Linked DNA regions of Homo sapiens: regions 2 and 3 are each linked to region 1. The links are contacts of gene promoters, found by promoter capture Hi-C in human tissues and cell types (Jung and others, 2019). All regions are on one chromosome and are shown on one strand. The core of a region is centred on a gene start or on the middle of the fragment in contact, and the rest is flanking DNA. Distances in the headings are between cores, read along the strand shown. Region 1 holds the start of PXN (paxillin). Region 2 holds the start of LOC124903114 (small nucleolar RNA U13). Region 3 overlaps GATC (glutamyl-tRNA amidotransferase subunit C).

Region 1 (3,527 bases), core at 337-2,836:
GCAGGACCCTACACCAACCCCAGCTCCAGGATCTCAGGGGCACCCTGATCCCAAAAGGAAGCTGGAGGGAAGCAGTCAAGTCCAGCACCTACAAATAGCCAGTCTTAACTTAGTGCCCGGCGCTGCTTGGTAGAGGTCCATCAGTCCTGTCTGCTGAATCTACTCCTCAGAGCCTGGGACAGAGGAAGCATCAGTGGTCACACAAGCCACCCACAGTCCAGAGAGGAAAGACAAGGCTCCTGCAGAGAAGAAACGTTGCCCCCCTCCTCACCTCCCAAGCTCAGGGCCCTCCAGCTACAGGCGTGAAGGGGAGGGAGAGACAGCGAATCCTCCCACTCCTGCGTTCACGCCACCCAAGGCATTCCTAGAACCCTGGCACCAACCCCCTTGGGTTTAGAGTCGGCTTCCAGGAGATACTTTCTTTCCCCTAACACCAGATCAAGACTGGACTGAAAAGAGTAGCCTTGGGGCTCCAATAACAGGAAAACAGTAAAACTCTGTTCTGGGCATCCTGTCCTCTTTCACCTGCGTGGCTTCCAGCAGGGCCTGACGCAGAGAGGGTGGAGGGGACTCTGCTAGCCAGGACACGTTCAGGGATGGTCATACCTTGGGGCCCACCTTCCACCTCATTCCCCTGGCATTTCACCAGAATCTAGGGGTGGGGAGAGAATCAGGACTCCCAAATTACCGTTCTAGACTTAGATACCATGGTAGACGGACTGGTCTGTGAATTGAGGGGCTGGTCCACAGAGCGGGGAGGTCAGTGAGAGAAAATGAGTGATGGGTCCTTGAAACGGGGTGACCAGATTTGAAGTGGGGGGTCAGAAGAGCAGGCAGACTGGGAAACTTGTCTTTGAAATGGGGGTGTGGTCATCACACGCTCATCTCTAGCTTTTGCATCTGACTTGTGAAATGAAAGGGGTGGGCTCCGAGGGGTTATCCCTGAAGGGGGGTGCTAGTCTGTGAAGTGGGGGGCGGCCCTGGAGGGACGGGGAGCAGGTCGAGGAAATGAGGGAGCAGCCCATGAGATCGGGCAGCTGCTCCCCGAGTTGGGCGGTCGATCTGTGAGGTGGGGGTGGGGAGAGGTCTGCGAGGTGAGGGTCCCGTAGCTGACGAGGTGGTCTGCCGCAGGAAGTCTCGTCCCTGCAGCGGACGGGGTGGGTCCCTGAGGGGCGGGCTGGTCCCTGGGGCCCTTCTGGGAGATGGTGATGGGTCCCCGAGGTCGGGGGTCCAGAGGTGAAGCCGTCCCAGACGGGGGGTCGCTGCTGTGCGGTCGGTGCCGGGGCCGGCCTGGCCCGAGACTAAGGCCCGGTTAGGGATCCCAGCCCCGCGGAGCCCCGGCCGGCAGGGACAGGAGCTGAGGCCGGGGCCGCCGAGGGTGGGATCCCGCGGCCCCTGCCGCTCGCTGGCGCCCTCCTGGCCCCAAGCTGCGCGCCTCTCGCCTCCTCCTCCCTCGGCCTCCCGCTCACTCACCGAGGTCGTCCATGGCCGGACCACGGGCGCCGGCTCAGGGTCGCGCTAGCTGCCCGTCCCGGGGCCGCTCGTCTATGCCCCGCAACTTTTCCGCCGCGAGCCTCGGCCCGGAACGGAACGCGCCGCCGCCGCGCGCGCCCGCGCCCGCGCCCGCCGCGCGCCCCGCCCCCGGCCGCCCCCTGTGCACGCGCGCCCCGCCCCCGGACACCCCCGCGAGCTTGCTGGCCCCGCCCCCTGCGCACGCTGGTCCCGCCCCCGCCAAGAGCCCGGGCAGTGGGCGTCGCTGGGCGGGGCGGTGGCGCCCCCTCGCGGCTAAGCGGGCAGGTGGGCGGCTCCCAGGCCTCCAGCCACTCCCATCCATCTTTCTGTCCCTCTCAAAGTCACTTGCCTGACCCTGCGGATGACAAATCCGTCCACAGTCAGCCATGTGTCTGTGCATTCGTCAGCCACTGGGTCATCACATGCCTGTCCACTGGACAGTCAGTTTTGCCCACCTGTCCGTCTGTCACCTGTAGGTCACCACCCAGGAGGACCATAAATCAGTACCAGGCAAGGCCCGGAGCCCGTGGCTGACCTTTCCTGGGGTCGTCCTCTGGATCAATGGCAGTGCAGCTCGCAGTTCACCCTTTCTGGCCCAAACCCAATACCTGTGTGGTTCCATCTCTCTTAATATTACTTCCACACAGCCACCCTCCCTAGACACTTTTCCAAAACTGCATGGGGCAGAGGGGTCCCCAGATTAGACATTAAAGGGAAAACTACAGGAAAGTCACACCCAGTGCTCCCACACACTCGGAAATTGGGTAATAATAACAACTACCATTTATTGAGTGTCTGAATAGACAGACACTATATAGCTATTCTCTAAATTAATCCTCCTAGAGGTACTTCCCTACCCGTTGGGATGGGTGATGGCAGTTTGTGGATTTTATATAAAACTGCTCTGCAAGTACAGCTTCGAGTTCCCCTTGTCCCTCAAGAATCCAGGCCTTCTGGGTCAGATCAGGTCCTCCAGAAAGCAGATGAGATGCTGAGATAAAGCTAGGGGTAATGCCCGTGACAGAGAAGGGGAAATAAGCAGGGTTGGGCAAGGAGACTCAGATCTGACAAACAGGTCAACCCATCAGGGAATTCCAGGACAAAAAAAATGAGAAGTCTCCTTGGGCAGAAGTATCCGGGTTCCAATGCTCCCACCATGTTCAGTCATTTTATAAAGGCAGATCCAAGCAGCTTCTGTGGCTGCCACATTCTCCTATAATAAATTCAAGACCAAAGACTGTTCCTCAAACACTCTATTGCGTGGTTTTCCAGCATCTTGCACATACCTCTATTTTGTTTTAGTTTTTGTGTTTTTGTTTTTGTTTGAGATGGAGTCCCAATCTGTCGCCCAGGTTGGAGTGCAGTGGTGCAATCTCAGCTCACTGCAACCTCCGCCTCCCAGGTTCAAGTGATTCTCCTGCCTCCTGCTGGGATTACAGGCGCATACCACCATGCCTGGCTAATTTTTGTATTTTTAGTAGAGATGGGGTTTCACCATGTTGGCCAGGCTGGTCTTGAACTCCTGATCTCAGGTGATCTCCTGCCTCCTGGTGGGATTACAGGCGTGTACTACCATGCCTGGCTAATTTTTGTATTTTTAGTAGAGACAGGGTTTCACCATGTTGGCCAGGCTGGTCTTGAACTCCTGACTTCAGGTGATCCGCCCCCCTCAGCCTCCCAAAGTGCTGGGATTACAGGTGTGAGCCACCACGCCCAGCCTGTTTTTGTGTTTTTAAGACACAGTCTTGCTTTGTTGCGTAGGCTGGGATGATGAATAAGACTAACATGATGTCTACCTTCTTGAATCTAAAGGTGCACGCAAAAGAGCAAAGTGGTTAGCATGAAGGATGAGTAGCCTCGCCCCACTCCCAGCTGTGTGGAACAGCATGTGCAAAGGTCTGTAGACAAGACATTTAATACTGACCACAAGCCTAGGAGATGAGCATTGTTAGCCCCTTTTACAGCTGGAAGAGTTGAGAGTCAGAGGTTGAATTACTCCAGGTCATACAGCTAAT
Region 2 (3,527 bases), core at 492-2,991, 220 kb before region 1:
TCTGTGCTTTATATTGGCTGCTTCATAAGGGTTCATCTCATCTTCAGCTACTTAAGAATGAAGATTGTGTCTTATAGTTTATATCTCTCATAGGGACATGAAACTTTGTATATTTCCAAAATGGAAGGTCTTTTAAAAATAAAATAAAAAAAACAAGCAAATGACTCCTTTCCTCCCTCAATCTTTCTAAGCTTACACTTTCTGAAATTTGTTATGATTATTATATCACTCTCCCCAGCCTCATTATTACTGAAATTCCTGATCTTTGTTTGATGTTATCAACACAGTTTTTTTTCTTTCACCTTTCTCCCTAGATGTTGATGTCTTATGAATTTACCTTTTTTTTTTTAAGAGGGAGAGGTCTCACTGTGTCGCTCAGGCTGGAGTACAGAAGCTATTTGCAGGCACGATCATAGCTTGCTGTAGCCTTGAACTCTTAGGCTTTATTTCTCCTGATTGTTAAGATAATACAACCTCCATATTTGCAAACATCTGGATTCTGCTAAGCTTAAGTTTTGTTTTAGTTTCTTCTCCTTTAGCCTTTCACTGTCAAGTGCATTGCTGTTAAAATTACAGGTCCTTGATCTTTTTGTAGTTCATAAACATGATGATTGGGCTTTCACACTTGTTTGAGGTGTGTCTTCCTCAAACCTTATAGTGTCAGCACATTGCCTGTCTGATGTGGGAAAAAAAAATTACAGGTTCTTGTTTCCTGTGATTTGCTTTTCCATTTTTTCCCTATCTCATTTGGTTACCTATCCCTTACTCACTCTGTGACCAAGGCATCTCCTCTGGGCCTCAGTTTCCTCATCTGTGTAATGAAGGAGTTCACTTAACTGATTTTCTTTTATTTTGGCAAGGTCCAGCTCTGACATCCTTGAAATCTAAGATGGTACCAGATCTGCCTTCTCTGTTTCATCCCCAGTACCTAGGATAAATCTAGCCACACAGAAAGGCTTATTAAACTTTTGTTGACATTTTTTTTTAATTTGGGGTCTGTGTGTCTACTCTAGTTTCTTGGAGATTTTTTTCTTATTTTCATTCTGTAGTTACCTACTGTACCTTTAAACTTTTATTTCTCAAGGACAGTTTGTTTCAGCCTTGAAAGATCCTTCATTCAGTTCAGTTCAGGCATTTCTTGGCCAGGTACTGGACTAGCTACTGGGAATGCAAAAATGAATTAGATGCTGTCACTGTCCTTAAAAAGCTTCAAATGAGGTGAAGGACTCATAAGAAGATAACTCATAAAATGTAATATGTCCTCTGCTAGAGTTTGTGCCTGGGGTGCTCTGAGAACGCAAAGGAGGGTCCCTCTGGAATGCCAAGGAGCACAGAAAGCTTCTGGGAAGAGATGATGCTATAGCTAAGTCTAGAAAGACAGAGTTAGTCCTGTGAAAAATAGGGAAGAAGCATGCCTAGGGAAAGAACAAGGATAAAGGGGACAGAGTTACAGGAGATAGAAGGTTGGCAGGTGACTGGCCTTGGAAGGCTTTTTGTGCCTGTTTGTAATAGGGAAGTACTAAAAGATTTCAGCAAGAAAATGTCTTTTCATATTACATTTTTATATGTGTCTTTTTATTTTAAAGAGATCTGCTAACATGGGCCGTATTTGTGGTCGTTAGGGGAACCAAGTGTTTTCTCTGGAAAGGTTGTCTTTTATCTTCTTTTTCAGATTATCTTAGTCTGGCGCTCTGCAGTTTCTTTATGATATATCTAGGTGTGGATTTCGTTTTATTTCTTCTGCTTTGTTTTCATTGGGCATCTTGAGTTTGTGAATTGGTGTCTTTCATTGTTAGGAGATTATCAGCCATTATCTCATCAAGTATTGCCTCGGTCCCATTCACTCTGTCCTTTCTGGAACTGCAGTTTAAACATATGGGGACTATACTAACGTAGTGCTTCTATTTTCCATCTTTATCTCTGTATTGTAGTGTAGATAATTCCTTCTGACTAGTCTTCCAATTTGGTAATTTTCTCTTCAGTTGTCACATGTGTTCTTAAACTCTGTCCATTAGGTTAAGAAGAAACTGGAAAGCTTTTTATTCCTCCAAAGTAGGTTATGCCATTTTACACTCCCACCAACAGTGTGTGGGAATTCCAGTTGTTGACATTCCCAGTATTTTGTGTTGTTGTTCCTTTTAATTGTAGCCTTCTTATGAGTATGTAGTGGTATCTCATTGTGGTTTTAATTTACATTTCCCTGGTCACTAATGATGGGGAGCACTTCTTCATGTGCCTATTGGCCATTCATTTATTTTTGTCTTTGAAGTATCTGTTCGAATGTTTTGCTCATTTAAAAAATTACGCGTCTTTTTATTGAGTTAGAGGTTTTTATATATTCTGAATACAAGTCAGATATATGTGTTATAAACATTTTCTCCCAGTCTGAGCTTTATAGATCTATTCTCTTTTTTTTTTTTCTTTTTTTTTCTTTTTTTGAGATGGAGTCTCACTCTGTCGCCCAGGCTGGAGTGCAGTGGCGTGATCTCGGCTCACTGCAAGCTACACCTCCTGGGTTCACGCCATTCTCCTGCCTCAGCCTCCCAAGTAGTTGGGACTACAGGTGCCCGCCACCACGCCCAGCTAATTTTTTTGTGTTTTTAGTAGAGACAGGGTTTCACCGTGTTAGCCAGGATGGTCTCGATCTCCTGACCTCGTGATCCACCTGCCTCAGCCTCCCAAAGTGCTGGGATTACAGGCGTGAGCCACCACGCCTGGCCTAGATCTGTTTTCTTAATGATGTCTTCTAATGCTTAGAAGTCTTTAATTTTGATACTACCCATTGGGTTTTGTGACATTTTTTGTTTTTGCTTGAGACAGAGTCTTACTCTGTTGCCCAGGCTGGAATGCAGTGGCACGATCTTGGCTCACTGCAACCTCTGCCTCCCAGGTTCAAGCAATTCTCATGCCTCAGCCTCCCAAGTAGCTGGGATTAACAGTTGTGTGCCACGCACAGCTAATTTTTATTAGAGACAGAATTCTTCAGTGTTGCCTTGGCTAGTCTTGAACTCCTGGCCTCAAGTGATCTTCCCACCTTGGCCTCCCAAAGTGCTGGGATTACAGACATGAGCCACTGGGCCTGGCCTGGGTTTTTAATTTTAAGTTATTATTTTGTATTTCTAGATATCTTGGATCTTTTCCAAATCTGAGAAGGTTGTACTTTACATTTTCCTCTTCCCTGGAGATTTTTTTTCTTTTCCCCCGAGACAGAGTCTTGCTCTGTCGCCCAGAGCTGGAGTGCCTAGAGCTGGAGTGCAATGGCGTGATCCCGGCTCACTGCAACCTCCACCACCCGGGTTCAAGCAATTCTCCTGCCTCAGCCTCCCAAGTAGTTGGGATTACAGGCACACACAACCGCACCTGGCTAATTTTTGTATTTTTAGTAGAGACGGCATTTCACCATGTTGGCCAGGCTGGTCTCAAAATCCTGACTTCGTGATCTGCCTGCCTCAGCCTCCCAAAGTGCTGGGATTACAGGCGTGAGCCACTGAGCCCAGCCCCCTGGAGATATTTTTAATCTTTTATTT
Region 3 (3,527 bases), core at 65-2,564, 190 kb after region 1:
TTTTTTTTTGTATTTTTAGTAGAGACGGGGTTTCACCCTGTCAGCCAGGATGGTCTTGATCTCCTGACCTCGTGATCTGCCCGCCTCAGTCTCCCAAAGTGCTGGGATCACAGGCATGAGGCACCGCGCCCGGCCTCTTAGCCATTTTTTAATACTGTCCAACAGAAACTATAAACTCCAGAAAGTCCAAGGGTTACCTTTGAATAGTATAATTATGATTTTTATTTTACTTTTGTTCTCCCAAGTTTTCTTAAATGAATACAGTCCTTGTGTTATTCAAAAAAAAAAAAAAATCTAGTACAACTCTCTTTTGTGTGTGTGTGTGTGAGACACTGTCTCACTCTGTCACCCAGGTTGGAGTGCAGTGGTGTGATCTCCGCTCACTACAAACTCTGCTTCCTACATTCAAGTGATTCTTGTGCCTCAGCCTCCCAGGTAGCTGGGATTACAGGTATGTACCACCATGCCCGGCTAACTTTTATATTTTTAGTAGAGACAGGGTTTCACCATATTGGATGGTCTCGAACTCCTGACCTCAGGTGATCCACCTGCTTTGGCCTCCCAAAGTGCTGGGATTACAGGCTTGAGCCACTGTGCCTGGCCTTTTTTTTTTTCTTCTTGCTCTGTCGCCCAGGCTTGAGTGCAGTGGTGCCATCTCAGCTCACTGCAACCTCCGCCTCCTGGGTTCAGGCGATTCTCCCGCCTCAGCCTCCCGAGTAGTTGGGATCACACGTGCGTGCCACCACGCTTGGCTAGTTTTTGTATTTTTAGTAGAGATGTGGTTTCCCCACGTTGCCCAGGCTGGTCTTGAACTCCTGAATTCAGGTGATCCACCCGCCTTAGCCTTCCAAAGTGCTGGGATTACATGCAAGAGCCACCACACCTGGCCTTTCTCCCCCACACCCCGCCGCCCCCCTCCAAGAAATTTAATGTCTGAAAAGATCATACTTGTTCAAGGCCACACAGTTAAGAATGTGCCAGGTCCTGTAACAGACTTCAACTTTCTAATATTCATACCATGAGTAAATATTTGTTGTGTCTAGCTTTGGGCTGGGTGCCACAAAAAAAGAACTAGTCCTTTCCTAAAATAATCTTATTGTGACAACTTAGTTCTCTTTTTTTTTGAGGCAGAGTATCGCTCTGTCGCCCAGGCTGGAGTGCAGTGGCGCGATCTCGGCTCACTGCAAGCTCCGCCTCCCGGGTTCACGCCATTCTCCTGCCTCAGCCTCCCAAGTAGCTGGGTCTACAGGCGCCCACCACCACGCCCGGCTAATTTTTTTGTATTTTTAGTAGAGATGGGGTTTCACCGTGTTAGCCAGGATGGTCTCGATCTCCTGACCTCGTGATCCGCCCACCTCGGCCTCCCAAAGTGCTGGGATTACAGGCGTGAGCCACCGCGCCCGGCTGACAACTTAGTTCTTATGTGCAGCCTTAGCCCAGATGTACCTGTCACATCTTTGTCCCTCTCTGACATGACTCAAACGCCATTAGGGTCTGCCCTCAGTCTGTGCCCACTCAAAGCAGGAGGAGCGTGGCTACTACCGAATACCATATCAGTGATTTAACAGACTGCTTATTTTTTTAATCTAAGTATCTGGAAGCAGGCTTACACACTTTTACACCTTGAAACAATAGTGAAGCCTCATGCAAATGTTCAAGCTCTTGTGTGTTTTTTACCGGTTTGCCATCTGAAGGCTTTAGTAAAGTCACTAGGTCCCACAGAACACTGGGAGATTCTTGAGCTGTTGGTGGCACATCTTGCTCAAGGGCAGGCACATCCACCAAAGTGGCTGTGGTGGAAAAAGCATTCATTTTAGGTGTATCAGATTGGGCTGAGATCCCAGTTGTTACTTAGCAGCCAACATCCTTAAGTTACTCTTGTGGCAAGTTTGCTTCCCCATCTCTGCTTAGCTTTCCAGCTTCATCTTCCACCCCGGCAGACCACACCCCAGCCTGCTAAACTCCCTGTCCTTCTCTGAATCTCTGAGCTCTCGGCTCTATTGCTTTGGGATTCATGCTGCTATACGTGCCAGGAAGTCCATTTCTCATACCTTCATCCCCCAATCCAGCTATTTCTTGCCCATCCTTGAACAGTGACATCAGCTATTCTGAGGATGTGCTACTCACGCAGGCTGGACTAGGTACCCTTTCTATCCTTTGGCAGGCTGTACTAACCTCTGTTAGATTTAAAATATTGTTTTTGTAATTGCTTTTACCTGTCCCCACCAAAAGACAGTTGCCCATATAATCATCAAAAACTATTTGTTAAATCAATCCAGAGAAGTAATTAGCACTTACTTCTCAGGGTTGTTCGGTCAATCTATAAACTGTAGGCTGTTATTTGGTCTACTGTTGATCCCAGCTTCTCTATCTTTGAACAGTGCCCATTAACTCAAGAATATACTGCTTCCTTGTTCTCTCCTTCTTGCCCCTCTCCATCATCCCCTAAAAGCCCCCTTCTCTGAGAGGGTAACCTTGAGCTTCTGGGTTTTGTAGATGTCTATACCTGAGATCCGACAATGTGGTAGAAGGCAACTGTGCTGATGAATTACTACAAAACTCCCATCGCGTCGTGGAGGAGTACTTTGTGGCCCCCCCAGGTACGTGCTGCCCAGAATGGTTTAACAGATAGTCTCACAGTAACCTTAGGAATGAAGCAGGAAGCATGAGGACCAAAGATGCTATGTGAAGGCACTTTGAAAAGGATGAAGTGCATACAGATGGTGGCATTAAGGTGGCAGTAGGGTCCAGGGTCATACTCACCTCTAGGGGGCAGTTAGTAACAGGAACAAGCAAAACAGGATTGGGGGCATGCGGGAGGTTTAAAGTAGGTGGAAATCTGGAGCTCAAGATCTCCCTAAAGGGGCAGCTGGCATTCAGTGTTTCTCAAAGCCACAGTTAAGACCCTGCCAGATCCTGTAATCGACTCCAACTTTCTAGTATTCATACCATGAATAAATATTTGTTAGGTCTAGCTTTGGGCTGGGTACCACAAAAAAACCAGTCCTTTCCTAAAAGAATCCTTTTTTTTTTTTTTTTTTTTTGAGACGGAGTTTCGCTCTTGTTGCCCAGGCTGGAGTGCAATGGTGCAATCTCGGCTCACCGCAACCTCCACCTCCCGGGTTCAAGCGATTCTCCTGCTCAGGCTCCCCAGTAGCTGGGATTACAGGCATGCACCAGCACGCCTGGCTAATTTTTTGTATTTTTAGTAGAGACAGGGTTTCACTGTGTTAGCCAGGATGGTCTCGATCTCCCGACCTCAGGTGATCCACCCACCTCGGCCTCCCAAAACGAATCTTATTGTGACAACTTAGTTATCATGTGTGGCCTTAGCCCAGATGTTTCTGTCACATCTTTGCCTATGACATGATTCAAACGCCATTAGGGTCTGCCCTCAGTCTGTGCCCATTCAAAGCAGGAGGAGCATGGCTGCTACCCTATCAGTGTTGCCAGGCAGGAATGTAAACCCATTTCTCCAGAGAACCTGGATACCTGACATTTTGTGTGATATTTCTTAAATTTTTTTT

The links. The method cuts DNA at HindIII sites, captures the fragments that hold promoters and counts their contacts. A contact is called where the count stands out against the background at its distance.
Region 2: a fragment that was not itself captured here is called in contact with the fragment with the promoter of PXN in region 1 in 3 of the 25 tissues and cell types used here (dorsolateral prefrontal cortex, hippocampus and pancreas).
Region 3: a contact is called between a fragment that was not itself captured here and the fragment with the promoter of PXN in region 1, in 1 of the 25 tissues and cell types used here (liver).

Annotation. Positions count from the first base shown.
Region 1 is chr12:120,264,144-120,267,670 of GRCh38, forward strand. It overlaps PXN (paxillin), which reads right to left and starts at 1,587. Exons shown (of 15, transcript NM_001385981.1): 1 at 1,474-1,587. The coding sequence starts at 1,486. RefSeq lists silencers at 1,305-1,454, 1,615-1,894. The HindIII fragment of the contact is 15,906 bases long and covers 1-3,527 here.
Region 2 is chr12:120,047,847-120,051,373 of GRCh38, forward strand. The region is part of intron 2 of BICDL1 (BICD family like cargo adaptor 1); the gene reads left to right. It overlaps LOC124903114 (small nucleolar RNA U13), which reads left to right and starts at 584; the gene lies at 584-682. The HindIII fragment of the contact is 5,126 bases long and covers 1-3,527 here.
Region 3 is chr12:120,454,580-120,458,106 of GRCh38, forward strand. It overlaps GATC (glutamyl-tRNA amidotransferase subunit C), which reads left to right. Exons shown (of 4, transcript NM_176818.3): 3 at 2,497-2,600. Among named protein-coding and RNA genes, the nearest start is that of GATC, 9.9 kb to the left of the region's middle. The HindIII fragment of the contact is 8,224 bases long and covers 1-3,527 here.